Regions from separate parts of the Homo sapiens genome. Here regions 2 and 3 are each linked to region 1. The links are contacts of gene promoters, found by promoter capture Hi-C in blood cells and fetal thymus (Javierre and others, 2016). All regions are on one chromosome and are shown on one strand. The core of a region is centred on a gene start or on the middle of the fragment in contact, and the rest is flanking DNA. Distances in the headings are between cores, read along the strand shown.

What was found. The method cuts DNA at HindIII sites, captures the fragments that hold promoters and counts their contacts. A CHiCAGO score of 5 or more calls a contact.
Region 2: a contact is called between a fragment that was not itself captured here and the fragment with the promoter of IMP4 in region 1, in 3 of 17 cell types (non-activated CD4 T cells, total CD8 T cells and activated CD4 T cells). The highest score is 8.5, in non-activated CD4 T cells.
Region 3: a contact is called between a fragment that was not itself captured here and the fragment with the promoter of IMP4 in region 1, in 1 of 17 cell types (non-activated CD4 T cells). The highest score is 5.1, in non-activated CD4 T cells.

The regions. Positions count from the first base shown.
Region 1 is chr2:130,340,047-130,344,767 of GRCh38, forward strand. IMP4 (IMP U3 small nucleolar ribonucleoprotein 4) reads left to right here and starts at 2,851. Exons shown (of 9, transcript NM_033416.3): 1 at 2,851-2,889; 2 at 3,040-3,148; 3 at 4,583-4,666. The coding sequence starts at 2,887. VMA22 (vacuolar ATPase assembly factor VMA22) reads right to left here and starts at 2,118. Exons shown (of 5, transcript NM_032357.4): 1 at 1,969-2,118; 2 at 1,795-1,898; 3 at 1,621-1,703; 4 at 862-993. The coding sequence starts at 2,079. RefSeq lists enhancers at 2,034-2,583, 2,714-2,883. The HindIII fragment of the contact is 8,635 bases long and covers 1,784-4,721 here.
Region 2 is chr2:131,100,179-131,104,899 of GRCh38, forward strand. No RefSeq gene overlaps it. Among named protein-coding and RNA genes, the nearest start is that of PLEKHB2, 2.8 kb to the right of the region's middle. The HindIII fragment of the contact is 424 bases long and covers 2,653-3,076 here.
Region 3 is chr2:131,078,588-131,083,308 of GRCh38, forward strand. It overlaps FAM168B (family with sequence similarity 168 member B), which reads right to left. Exons shown (of 7, transcript NM_001009993.4): 2 at 3,990-4,070. The coding sequence starts at 4,059. Among named protein-coding and RNA genes, the nearest start is that of FAM168B, 13 kb to the right of the region's middle. The HindIII fragment of the contact is 8,121 bases long and covers 1-4,721 here.

The sequences.
Region 1 (4,721 bases), core at 1,601-4,100:
GCCTTCTGGAATCCTCTCAGCTGCCCACAGCAGGTGAGGGTCGCTCCATCCTCCCAGGGGTTCTGGGTGGAGACCGCAGGCTCTCCTGGACTCCTTTCCTTCCCTTACTCCCATATCTTATCTGTCAGCAAATTCTGGGGCTTCTATTCTTAAAACCTGTGCAGGTTCCCACCACTTACCTCCTCCTCCAGTGACGCTATCTGCTTCTCACACTGGCTGCTCCCTGACACCTACTTCCTCCCTCTGCTCTGTGTCCCCGCCCAGCACCCAAGCATTCCTGTGACCCTGTACAGCCAGTTGCACCATCCTCTGCTCAGAGCCTCTCTGTGGGTCCCACAGTCTTCATCAGGGCTTACATCACCTGACTCCACTCTAGGCCACCGGCCTCGGCACATACCAGATATATCTGGCTTCAGGGCTTTTGTCCTGGCTGGTTCCTCCATCTAGAGCACTGTTCCCCAAAATCACCCACAAAGCTTTTCCTTCACCTCCTCAGAGAGACCTCCCCTGGCCCACTCCTGTCCCACTCCATTATGTGTTTTTCATAACAATTTTCACAGCCTGACTTATGTTAAGGGCCTACTTATTTGCACGTTGCCTTTGTCTGCTTCTAAACATTACATGAAAAGTGTTTGTCTCTTTTGTTCCCTGCTGTATCCCCAGCAGCTAGCATGAACCCGAATGCTGCCAACAACCAGTAAATGCTTTTGGAAAAAATAATGGGTGTACAACGGAAGTTTGGATGGAGGAAAACCTGCAAAGCCTTTCACAGACTAACCCCAGCCATGGCAGCAGTGCTCAAGTGTTCCCTGTGGATAGAGGGTCTGAGGGCCACAGAGCCAAACAACACGGTCCACTCACCATCCCGGAAGCTTGCTTGAGCCTGACGTAGACTGTGAGGAACTAGGATTCCAAACCAGTTCAGGGGGTCCTGAGGGGCCTCAGAGGACTCCGGTTCTGGGGTCTTAGTGGGGCCCTTGCGCCTCCGCAGACCTGAGGAAAGAAAGGTTGGAGGAGGCTGGGATCTTACTCCCTGACCTTTATCATCTTGGTGACAATGTTGAGCTTGATCTGAGCTCATGATTCTATAAAACACTGTTGGTTGGAAAATTCCAACTTTGGGGTTCCAGGAAACAGCTTACCACAAAACACAGCCTTTCCCCTTGTGATTCAGATGAGACTGTTTGTCCACTCTTTCCCGTGACTCCTGTAAGACCCACTGATGACCCTGTTTGCCTGTGACACTGATCTTACCCATTGTACCTGAACATGCCAACAGACCAGACATAGACGTTCCAACTCCCCATTCTTTGTCTCAGGATGATTAACTGGGATTAGAAGTTTGTCCCTCTGAAACTAGCTAGACACACAGATAAATATTTTCTGTTCAGCTGACTGAAATGTATGTGATTGTAAATCTATTCCCAGTGTAAAGCAACTCACCAACAATTTCTCTACTTCCTATAAAAGTCTAAGGCAAAACCACCCTACAAAAACATTCTGTTCTTCTGCTCTGGGATGCTCTCTCTTATCGCAAAAACCTAATTTAAATCATCTCCATAATTTGCATTTTGTCTTTGACACTGGGAAGGGGTTCTGCAGAAGGAAGAGGGGGCTCACCTGCTTCGCGAGGCCCCACCTCCTCTGGGGCGTGGACACCAGCTCTCACCACCTTGAACTTCTGGAGTCCCTCCTGGGCCTCGCTGAAGGACGAGAAGGGAGGATGGAGCTTTGGCAGCCCGGGCCTAGAACGCGCCCGCCCGCCCACCCAGCCCAGCATGGAAGCTTCCTCACCTGGCGTGGAGGCAGACCTGGGGCTCCATGTGGGAAGCATACTGCAGGGGCCCTACCGACTTGGCGCCCATCGCGTAGCGAGCCTTGGCGAGCGAGAGCCAGCCCTGCAGGGAGAGGAAAGCGGTGAGACTCAGTTTACGCCCGTGTACCCTCCTGCCCGCCCCAGGCGCCTACCTCCTCCACCCGGGCGTTCAACACCGTTCGTTTCCCCTCCAGCTCCTCCAGGTCCCCAAGCAGCTGCAGGACCAGCGAATCCAGCTCCGCTCGCAGGTCAAGCGCCGCCATGGACACACCTCCAGATCTGGAGCCACCTTCTTCCTTGTCACCCTCCGCAGTTTGGCAGGACAGCCAATAGGCACACGAGATCCTCCATCAAGGGGCGTTCCCATCTGGGGATCCCCACGCCGGCAGCACCAAGGCCTCTGGGTCAGCTTCTTTAAGGGCAAGCGCCCTTAGAGAAGCAGCACGGAAGCAACCAATCAACTGGTTTCTCCAATTAGCCCCCAAGTGGATCAGCCTGCTGAACTGTCGGCTAGGGTTATAGGTGGTTCTGAGTCCTTCCGGAAGCTGCCGAATCTTAGAAGTCGCGCCACTGTTGTGGCGATGGAAGAAGGCGAAGCTCTACAGAAACCATTTTGGTTGAGGGAAGAGTGGTTTTAAAGTTAATTTGGAAAGGAGCCGGCAAGCAACCTTCAGTCGGTGTGCGGTTTTTACAGTTGAACTGTTTCCAGCCGCTAATTATGATTGTTTTAGCGGTTCGTCATCTGAAAACTGCATTCTGCACGGCGGTGGTGGGGGGAGGACGAGGATGGAGAAGCCTGGGCGGACATATTTATTAGCTGCGGTCCTAAGTCACGTGTGACATTCTGTATCCAGTCTATCGGTTATCCCAAGGAGAACGCCCTGCCGGAATGGCCAATCGCCTTGAGATGTCCCCGCCCTATTCGCCATCTTAACATAGGGCATTCCCCACAGCTGCAGGCACCAGTGAAGCGTCTAAGGGACCATCTTGGTTGAGGGCGGAAGTGAGGACTGTGTCGCGCTGGAGGAGCCCACAGATTCTCCCGGACCCACGTGGAAGCGGCACTCAAGATGGTAGGAGAATGAGCTCCTGTTTCGGAGGTCCGGGGCGCGTGAAGTGCTGGGGATGTGGCTCTGGGGACTTGGAGGCTCAGCGGCTCCGGGGCTCCGGGGTTCCGGGGCTCGGGAGCGAGTAGTGAGTGACTGGGCCTGCTGTTCCCACAGCTGCGCCGCGAGGCCCGCCTGCGCCGCGAGTACCTGTACCGCAAGGCCCGGGAGGAGGCGCAGCGCTCAGCCCAGGAGAGGAAGGAGCGGCTGCGGCGCGCGCTGGAAGGTAAGGCATCGGCCCCGCGGGCGTCTGCGTGGTAAACCACCCCGGCACGCATTTGTGTTCGAATATCCGAGCGTCTTTCCAAATGCTTGCCGGCCGTTTTCCTTGCCCATTGGGTTCTCCTGTTGGTTTTGAGAGTGTTTCTTCCGTGTGATGGTATTAATTACTTGTCACTGACGTTGCAGTACCCGGGTTTTGCAGCTTGCCCGCTGTGTGCAGTGTGTCAAGTTCGTCCCAAGTTTTAAAGACTTTATCTTGTCCTGTAGAAATTCTCTTTAGAGCGGTGGCTCACTGCTGTAATCCCAGCACTTTGGGAGGCCGAGGCGGGCGGATCATGAGGTCAGGAGTTCGAGCCTGACCAACATGGTGAAATCTCGTCTCTACTAAACATACAAAAATTAGCCGGCCGTGGTGGCACGCGCCTGTAATCCCAGCTACTCAGGAGGCTGAGGCAGGAGAATCGCTTGAACCCGGGAGGCGGAGGTTGCAGTGAGCCGAGATCCTGCCACTGCACTCCAGCCTGGGCAAAAAAGCAAGACTCCGTCTCAAAAAAAAAAAAAAAAAGAAATTCTCTCTAAAGACTATCTGGATAGCGCTGGTGCTGCAGACTGCGCTGCCCATCCTCCCTGCAGGAGTTCCTCTGAGCTCCGTGGGGAACAGTGCTGGCCCCGAGTGCGCACCTGGAGCGCTGTGCTCTGCGGTAGGCAGCCTGTGGTCCAGGGCCCGCTGAAGCCATGCCTTCGAAGCGCTGTGGGCATCGTGACCAACGGTTTTGCTGTCTGAGAGCTTAAAGGTCTCTGGTCCACCATCATACGTACAGAACAGTCTATATTTCTTTTCAAAAGTAATTTTTAAGGCCGAGCGCTGTGGCTCACGCCTGTAATCCCAGCACTTTGGGAGGCCGAAGCGGGTGGATCACGAGGTCAGGAGATCGAGACCATCCTGGCTAACACGGTGAAACCCCGTCTCTACTAAAAATATAAAAAATTAGCCGGGCGCCGTGGCGGGCTCCTGTAGTCCCAGCTACTCGCCAGCCTGAGGCAGGAGAATGGCGTGAACCCAGGAAGCGGAGCTTGCAGTGAGCCGAGATGGCACCACTGCACTGCTCTGCCTGGGTGACAGAGCGAGACTCCGTCTCAAAAAAAAAAAAAATCGATGTTTAGATTTCTACCTGATTATAAAAGCAATACAGTACATTAAGATATTTTAGAAAGTCCTCAAGTCATGAGACTAAAGAAAATGAAGTCCTAGTAACCACTGTTTATGGGGGTTGGCCTGTAGAAAGTTTTGTCACCTCTATCCATGCTTTATCCAAGCTCAGAAAGGGCTGAGGTATTTTTATTTCAAGCATGTGCAGGCTAATAAGCTGTGGTGTATTGGATGAGCTGAGGTCTCCATGCTTGTGACTCACTCAGCCCCTCTCTCTTCCCTCTGCAGAAAACCGCCTGATTCCCACTGAGTTACGCCGAGAGGCTCTGGCCTTACAGGGGTCCCTGGAGTTTGATGATGCTGGAGGTGAAGGTAACTATACAAGGTAGCCCTCCCCAACACTGAGCTGGCAGGTCTCCAGTCCTTC
Region 2 (4,721 bases), core at 1,615-4,114, 760 kb after region 1:
TCCATAGATGCCTGTGAAATAGGTGACAGATGTTCAACAGTAAACAAGAAACACTCCAAACTGAAGTAGCAGTAGAGGCTCAGGTGGGCTGGAGGAGAAAGGGCACTCACTTTCCTGTGGATGGTTGAAATAGGCAGAAAAGGCTGCAATCCAAAGCAGGGAGTGAAGGGGGAGAGAAACAGACCTGTAAACAAGGACATTAACTGCAAGGCTGCCTGTACCACAGCTGTGCCCCTTTTTATTTCTCCATTCTTGTGTACATGGGCAGCTTCCTGTTTATAGTGGGCAAAACCCCAACTACTATCCTCAAAAGAAATGGATTCCACTGTCTTTGGCCGGGCGTGGTGGCTCATGCCTGTAATTCCAGCACTTTGGGAGGCCGGGGCAGGCGGATCACCTGAGGTTGGGAGTTCGAGACCAGCCTGACCAACCTGGAGAAACCCCGTCTCTACTAAAAATACAAAATTAGTCGGGTGTCGTGGTGGGTGCTTGTAGTATCAGCTGCTTGGGAGGCCGAGGCAGGAGAATCGCTTGAACCTGGGAGGCGGAGGTTGTGGTGAGCCAAGATCGAGCCATTGCACTCCAGCCTGGGCAACAAGAGTGAAACTCCGTCTCAAAAAAATAAAAAAAAGAAAGAAAGAAATGGATTCCACTGTCTGAAGAAAGCCATGGCTTCTTAGTAGATGTTGAGGGCAAAATGAAGTAAAATTTAGGCATGCAAAAACTCATTGTTTCCCACCCCAAAAAGCAGTTACAAAGTTTCCGTATAGGAGAAGCAAAGGTGCAGCCAGCATGCTGGAACGGCTTCCTGCGCTGCACTCTGCATTGCTTGCCCCTGCTCTTCTCCCTAGTGCTGTGTGTCTGTTTGGGATGGACCTGGGTGTTGGTAAACATTGTGGGGCAGCTGAAATCCTACTGTTCCACCCTGGCTACTTTTATACATATAAAAAATTTCGGCCGGGCGCTGTGGCTCACGCCTGTAATCACAGCAATTTGGGAGGCTGAGGCGGGCGGATCACGAGGTCAGGAGATGGAGACCATCCTGGCTAACATGGTGAAACTCCGTCTCTACTAAAAATACAAAAAATTAGCCGGGCGTGGTGGCGGGTGCCTGTAGTCCCAGCTACTTGGGAGGCTGAGGCAGGAGAATGGCGTGATCCTGGGAGGTGGGGCTTGCAGTGAGCCGAGATCCCGCCACTGCCCTCCAGCCTGGGCGACAGAGCGAGACTCCGTCTCAAAAAAAAAAAAAAAAAACACAAAGAAAGAAAAAGTAAAGGAAGAGTGCCTGTTATCTCCTATTCCTTGGAAGCTCCACATTCCCAATTATGTGGGGTGTAGCAGGGGAGACATGGTATTTTACTTCATGTTCTATTTGGAGTTTTTTTTTTAAATTTACTTATGTTTTTGTATATTTTGTTTTACTATGTTGTCCAGGTTGGTCTTGAACTTTTGGCCTCAAGTGATCCTCCTGCCTCGGCCTTCCAAATGTTGGGATTTCAGGTGTGAGCTAATGTGCCTGGCCTGGAATTTCTTTTTTAACCACCAGAACTTCTCACTTTATTTTCTTCAATAAAGAAACGCATACTAGTAACTGGGCAAGAAATGGAGTGGGGCTTAGCAGCAGGTAATTTGGTTTGAGCCAGTTGAGGGCCACAGAGACAGGTGACTGATGGGTACAGAGTCCCAATGCAACTCTTTGAACTCTTGGACTTCTCCCTCTCAGTTTCAGACAAGAGGCTGCACATTCAGATAGGGGGCTGGAAAGCAGGCGTCCTCACCTGCACCCAGCCTTCTTTCCCCTGGCCTCTTCTCAATAAACATGAACAGGAAGCCAGTTTTTCTTTTCTTTCTTTTTTTTTTTTTTTTTTCTGAGTTGGAGTTTCACTCAGTCGCCCAGGCTGGAGTGCAGTGGCACAATCTCAGCTCACTGCAACCTCCGCCTCCTGGGTTCAAGCTATTCTCCTGCCTCAGCCTCCCAAGTAGCTGGGATTACAGGTGCCCGCCACCACGCCTGGCTAATTATTTTGTATTTTTAGTAGAGATGGGGTTTCACCACGTTGGCCAGGCTGGTCTCGAACTCTGGACCTCGAGCGATCTGCATGCCTCGACCTCCCAAAGTGCTAGGATTACAGGCGTGAGCCACCACGCCCAGCCCAGAAAGCCAGTTTTACTGAATCAGAAAACTTGTTATGGGACACTCCCTCCTCCAGGTACTGGAACGCCTACTTAAACTGAACTTTATTAAAATATTACTTTTTTTTTGTCTGGGTGCAGTGGCTTACGCCTGTAATCCCAGCATTTTGGGAGGCCGAGGCAGGTGGATCACGAGGTCGGGAGTTTGAGACCAGCCTGGCCAACATGATGAAACCCTGTCTCTACTAAAAATACAAAATAAATAGCTGGGTGTGGGGGCGCACACCTGTATTCCCAGCTACTCAGGAGGCTGAGGCAGAATAATTGCTTGAACCCAGGAGGCGGAGGTTGCAGTGAGCCTAGATGGTGCCACTGTCCACCAGCCTGGGTGACAGTGAGACTCCATCTCAAAAAAAAAATTATTATTATTTTGAGGCAGGGTCTCATTCTTTTGCTCAACCTGGAGTGCAGTGACACAATCATGGCTCACTGCACCCTTGACCTCCCGGATTCTAGTGAAGCTTCCCTCTCAGCCTCTCAAGTAGCTGGGACTACAGATGCATGCCACCATGCCAGTCTAATTTTTTTATTTTTATTTTTTTGTAGAGAAAGTGTCCCACTGTGTTGCCCAAGCTGGTCTTGAACTCCTGGGCTCAAGTAATTCTCCTGTCTTGGCCTCCCAAAGTGCTGGGATTATAGACGTGAGCCATCACACCCAGCCTTAAATATTACTTTTTCCTGTTGTTGAAGTGATACATATTCATGAAAGAAAACTTGGAAAATGCAGAAAAGTAGAAAAAAGAAATGTCATCCACAGTCCCATCACTCAGAGAGAATGTGTTAGTGTATTTTTGGATACTCCAAACTCAGACCCTGAAAGGTCCCTAAGACTGACCCTGAAGGTGGTCAGGGCTAGTATAGCCTTAATGAGGGCTGGTCAAGAAGCTTGTTGATGTCAGGCAATTTACCCGAGCTCATCCAGAAGCAGCGGAACCAGGAAGAACCCCATGTCACACAAATCTCTGAACTCTTGTGTTGACTAAGCTATAATATCTTGCAAAAGATGGGATTGCAGGCATCATAGGACTCCCTACCCTGCATTTTTTAAATTTTCCCCAGAGAGGAGCTGGGTTAAGACAGGGGCCCTGATTGGCAGAGTTTGGGGTTTTGAAGACCAATAATAATAGGGCTCTTCCAATATTTTTTTTAAGAGTTTTTCCCTTTTAAATTTAGATATAATTTATACACAGAAAAATGTACAAATCTTTTTTTTTTTTTTTTTTTTTTTTAGATGGAGTCTCTCTGTCGCCTAGGCTGGAGTGCAGTGGCGTGATCTCGGCTCAGTGCAACGTCTGCCTCCCGGGTTCACACCATTTTCCTGCCTCAGCCTCCCAAGTAGCTGGGACTACCGGCGCCCGCCACCACGCCTGGCTAATTTTTGTATTTTTAGTCTCTGAGTATCTGGGATTACAAGCGCACCACCAGGCCTGACTAATTTTTTTTTGTATTTTTAGTATGGACGGTGTTTCACCACGTTGGTCAGGCTGGTCTCAAACTCCTGACCTCGTGATCTGCCTGCCTCGGCCTCCCAAAGTGCTGGGATTACAGGCGTGAGCCACTGTGCCCGGCCAAAAATGTACAAATGTTAAGTATAGTGTTCAGCTTGATAAAGTTTTACTTACACACACGTACCCACCACTCAGATCAATGTATAGAACATTTTCAGCACCCTAGGAGTGGGGTTGCCAGGAGGCTCTCTCAAGCCTCTTTCCAGGCAGTACCCCTACACCACCCCCCAACCCCTGCTAGGCTGGAACGCAGTGGCTTGATTGCAGGTCAAACTTCTGGGCTCAAGCAATCCTCCTGCCTCTGGCTCGCAAAGCTCTGGGATTACTGGCATGAACCATCTCACCTGGCTAACATTTATTTTCCCTCTATTGTCTTCAGAAAACCCCCAACTTTTCATCTGGAATAATTTTAGACTACAAAAAAGTTATAAAGCTAGTATACCCTTCACACAATTTCTCCTAATGTTAACATCTTACATAACCATTATACATTTCTTATAACTAAAAACTACTATTACCTAAACTTAAATTTTATTTTAAGTTTATAGCCTAGCTACATCACCATGTTGCATATGACAGTGTCTCAGTTTTTTTCTTGCTTTTGATTACCTTGATAGTTTGAGGAGTACTGGTGAGGTGTTTTGAGGAATATCCCACAAACGAGATTTGTCTGATGTTTATCTTTCAGTTAGACTGAGGTCACGGTTTTTTTTTTAATCACATGTCAAGGGCAAGTGCAGTGACTAATCACTTTGATTTTCACGTGGAGTGGCTCTACAGCCCTCTTTCCACACTGTACTCTTGGAAAGGTCGTCCCCAGGCATAGGCCACACTCAGGGTGGGTGTGGACGGATTACCACACCCCTCTGGATGAGGTATTATTAGAATTCCTCTGCAAGGAAGATTATCCCTTCTCCCTCATTTATTTAATCACGTATTTATAGCAGCACGGGCTCTGGGCTGTTTTATACTTTAGGTTATAACTTAATGCAATGTACTTTATATTGCTGCTCAAATTGT
Region 3 (4,721 bases), core at 919-3,418, 740 kb after region 1:
ATAAAATCGCATCTAGTTACATCATGGTAAAAGCAAAGATATTTTCAAAGTAGCAAGGTACACGGGTTGGGGGAAATGTAGAGAAGAAACATGATTTCAAAGAGGCAAAAATTATTCTAGGCCGGGCACAGTGGCTCAGGCCTGTACTCCCAGTACTTTGGGAGGCTGAGGTGGGATGAGCACAGGAGTTTGAGATCAGCCTGGGCAACACAGTGAGACCCGATCTCTACAAAAATTAAAATTAAAAAATTATTCAGGCATGGTAGCGCACACCTGTAGTCCCAGCTACTTGGGAGGCTGAGGCAGGAGGATCCCTTGAGTCCAAGGAGTTTGAGGCTGCAGTGAGCCGTGACTACACCACTGCACTGGGGCCTGAATGACAGAGCAAGACCCTTTCACAAAAAAAAAAAAAAAAATTATTTTGACAGAAACCAGATGACAAATTTTATCTTTAAAGTGCTGAGAGGAAATAATGTGACATTATTCGGGAAAATAATCTTCACAGATGTGATTAAGTGAAGGATCTTGAGATGAGGTCATTCTGGAATCCTGGACTGCCCAGGCTGGCTCTAAATCCAATGACAAGTGTCCTTATAAAAAACACACAGGGCCGGGCACGGTGGCTCAGGCCTGTAATCCCAGCACTTTGGGAGGCCAATCACCTGAGGTCAGGAGTTTAAGACCAGCCTGGCCAACATGGTGAAACCCTATCTCTACTAAAAATACAAAAATTAGTCGGGCGTGGTGGCACGCACCACATACCTGTAATCCCAGCTGCTCAGGAGGCTGAGGCAGGAGAATCACTTGAACTTGGGAGGCAGATGTTGCAGAGAGCCAAGATCACGCCACTGCACTCCAGCCTGGGTGACAAGAGTGAGACTTCGTCTCAAAACAAACACACAAAAGACACACAGGAGAGGATGTGACCATGGAGGCAGAAATGGGAGTGATGCAGCCACAAAGCCACATGCTAAAGACTGCAGACAGCCACCAGAAACTAGAAGATGCAAGGAATGGATTTTCCTCTGGGCCTGCACTAGGAGTACAGACCTGCCAACGCCTTGATTTCGAACCTCTGGGACTACATCTCTATGGCTTTAACCCACCAAGTTTGTGGTTACCTGTTATAGCAGCCACAAAAAAAACAAACACACCCGGCAAAAGAATGCCTCAAAAGAAAAGCAAAATAAAGACAATTTCACAAAACAAAATTCACTAACAGACTTGTGGTTTAAAAAAAAAAATGTGGCTCGGAGCAGTGGCTCACGCTTGTAATCCCAACACTTTGGGAGGCCGAGGTGGGAGGATCACCTGAGGTCAGGAGTTCTTGATCAGCCTGGCCAATATGGCAAAAACCCATCTCTACTAAAAATACAAACATTAGCTGGGCATGGTGGCAGGCGCCTGTAATCCCAGCAACTCAGGAGGCTGAGGCAGGAGAATCACCTGAACGCGGGAGGCAGAGGTTGCAGTGAGCCAAGATCACGCCATTGCACTCCAGCCTGGGCAACAAGAGTGAAACTCTGTCTCAGAAAAAAAAAAAATGTTGAGAGTTGTTCAGATAAAGGTCAATGACTCCAGAGAGAAACATGTAAATAGAGAAAGCAATGAAGAGCACCAAAAACAGTAAATGTGTGAATAAATATAAATGGCTGTTGATTGCACAAAATTAAAACAGTAACGTCTTTTTTTTTTTTTGAGACAGAGTCTCGCTCTGTCACCAGGCTGGAGTACTGTGACACAAGTAATATCTTAAGGTAAGGCAACAACAGAAAAAGAGGGGCTCACGCTTATAATCACAGCACTTTGGGAGGCTCAGGAGAGCGGATCACTTGAGGTCTGCAGTTCGAGACCAGCCTGGCTCACACAGTGAACAAAAAATTAGCTGGGCATGGTGGCATGCATCTGTAATCCCAGTTACTCGGGAGGCTGAGGCTGGAGAATCGCTTGAACCCGGGAGATGGAGGTTGTAGTGAGCTGAGATCGTGCCACTGCACTCCAGCCTGGGCAACAGGGCAAGACGGTCTCAAAAAAATAAAAATAAAAGAGGTATAATCTTTATAATAAGCACTAAAAGAATAGTAAAAGAATTTTTTTTTTGAGACAGAGTCTTGCTCTGTCGCCCAGGCTGGAGTGCAGTGGCACGATCTCAGCTCACTGCAAGCTCCACCTCCCGGGTTCACGCCATTCTCCTGCCTCAGCATCCTAAGTAGCTGGAGATACAGGCGCCCGCCACCATGCCTGGCTAATTTTTTTTTGTATTTTTAGTAGAGACGGGGTTTCAGTGTTAGCCAGGATGGTCTCGATCTCCTGAACTCATGATCTGCCTGCCTCGGCCTCCCAAAGTGCTGGGATTACAGGCATGAGCCACTACACCCAGCCTGTCACTCCTTTTCTTACAGTTTCTCTACTCAGCCCTTCTGGAGAAGAGCTCCAGATGTTTCTTTACTGTTCTGTTTTCCTCCCTTTCCTTATGTTGCATTCTGGTTCTCTCTTAACCAGTGTCTTGTCTTGATATTAACCTGAAATTTGTTCATATGCCATTTTGTTTCATTTCTTAAAGTTCCAGCTAGTTCTTTTTTCTCAGCATCTTGTTCCCCTCTTATGTTTCTGATTCTTTCTTTTATATCTGCAATTCTTCTAAACTTGGCTATGTGACATAGCATCTACCTGATGGTTCTTCTCCTGCAGTCTGTCATGGCTGGTGCCTCTTACTTGATGGGAGGCATCCCATGCTAGCAGGCAGAACTTTGCCTGCAGGAAGCCCACGCAACCTGGGTTGTGAACATATGCCCCCACAGCAGTTCTGCATTCGCTGCTGTCAGGAGCCCCAGGAGTAACCAAGCCTGGAGACTATTTTTACGTTAATTTCTCAACTTCTGAACCCCTGGGGAGTATAATACAAGCTAGAGCCCCAAACATCTCTGAATGCTTACAAAGTCTTAGTAAAGATCTCCCGCTTCTCAGAGCCCAAGCATATAAACTTCCTTATGGGGCCACTGGACGACTAGACTGTTTAGTCTATCTCTTTGCTGAGAGTATCACCCTCCAGAGGGACGAGAATGACTGATAAGAAGTCTCACTCTCATTCCCTGTCGCAAGGGTCCTAATACTCAATCTCTATCCCCATGTGGGTTGTTAAAACCCACAAATAGCACATGTGCCCAGGACAGGCACGACATTAGTTCAAAGGCCAAGTTAGCTGGGTTTAACATGGCCTTCACATTTGACCCCAGATATCTCTCTTACCTCCTGCAAGTTCAGTTATACATTTGTAAAATGTTTTATTTCACTTTCTGAGAGTCTTAGCAACAAAGTTTTGGGGTTATCTCTTCTACCATATTATCAAAACCCAAAATGAAACTGTATCATTATAAATAACTACTCCTTGTGCAAAGTCACCGAAGGGAACAACCATTTGCTATTTTTGACCAACCAGCTCCTATCCCCTCAATATCCATTTCGCTGCAACCCTCACTTGCAGTCCATATTTGACTAGCTGACTCCACTAAAGGGATGTGGATCAGGCCTAAGTCAATCAGCAGACTCCCCTTTGTGGCCCAGGGATGGATGCTGAGTTTAATCAGAACAAAGCCCAGGACTGGTTTGAATAGAGAACAAGCAGTCCCATCAGGCTTTCCTGTAGAGTGGAGGTAAAGAGGCTCTTAGTGAGGGACTACTGGGAGGGGCCTGAACTTCAGAGACCACAATGAGAAGGAGTGGGACCTGTGACCAACACTAAGTTAATACTGAGGAAGCGAAGCTGAGACCAGGAGGTAGAGAAACTAGATCCTGGTCCCAACTGCTGGAGCCACTAGATCAAGTTTTGACCAAATCCAGTCCTATCATTTGATTTTTCACTTCCAGGTATTTTCTTTCTTGTCTAAGCCACTTTGAGCTGCGTTTGTCAATAGAAAGCATTCTTAGTGACATGAAAATATACCAAGTATTCAAAGTTCAAAAATGAAAACAAAATTTTACTTACTTACCTGGATAACCAATTCCTTTGGCATTTGCATAGGGAACCCCAGAAGATCCAGGACTATAAACAGGATTCATGATTTCAAAAACTAAAAGAAAAAAAAGGGAATTTAGCCAAGCACTTTTGCTCTCAGATTTTTCTCCAGTACCAGTCCCCAAAAAGCAGGTAGCTAGAGTCCTTTCTCTAGGCTGCTATAAAACAATGCATTTCATGCTGCCCCCAACCAGCGAAGAACAGAAAAGGGACACTCGATGTCCTAATGGGTGCCAAACCAGGGCATGATAAACTTTTTTTCACAATTCTCCTCAGTCCATCAGAAGCTAAGGAGTAAAAATTGTTAGCTATATGTCCACTAAAAGCAAGGGGAAAGGCCAGGTACGGTGGTGCACTCCTGTAATCCCAGCACTTTGGGAGGCCGAGGTGGGCAGATCACCTGAGGTCAGGAGTTTGAGACCAGCCTGGCCAACATGGTGAAACCCCATCTCTACTAAAAATACAAAAATTGGCCAGGCATGGTGGCTCGTGCCTGTAATCTTAGCACTTCGGGAGGCTGAGGTGGAGGAATCATGAGGTCAGGAGACCAAGACCATCCTGGCCAACATGGTCAAACTCCGTCTCTACTAAAAATACAAAAATTAGCTGGGTGTGGTGGCGCGTGCCTGTAATCCCAGCTACTCAGAACGCTAAGGCAGGAGAATCGCTTGAACCAGGTAGTCGGAGGTTGCAGTGAGCCAATATT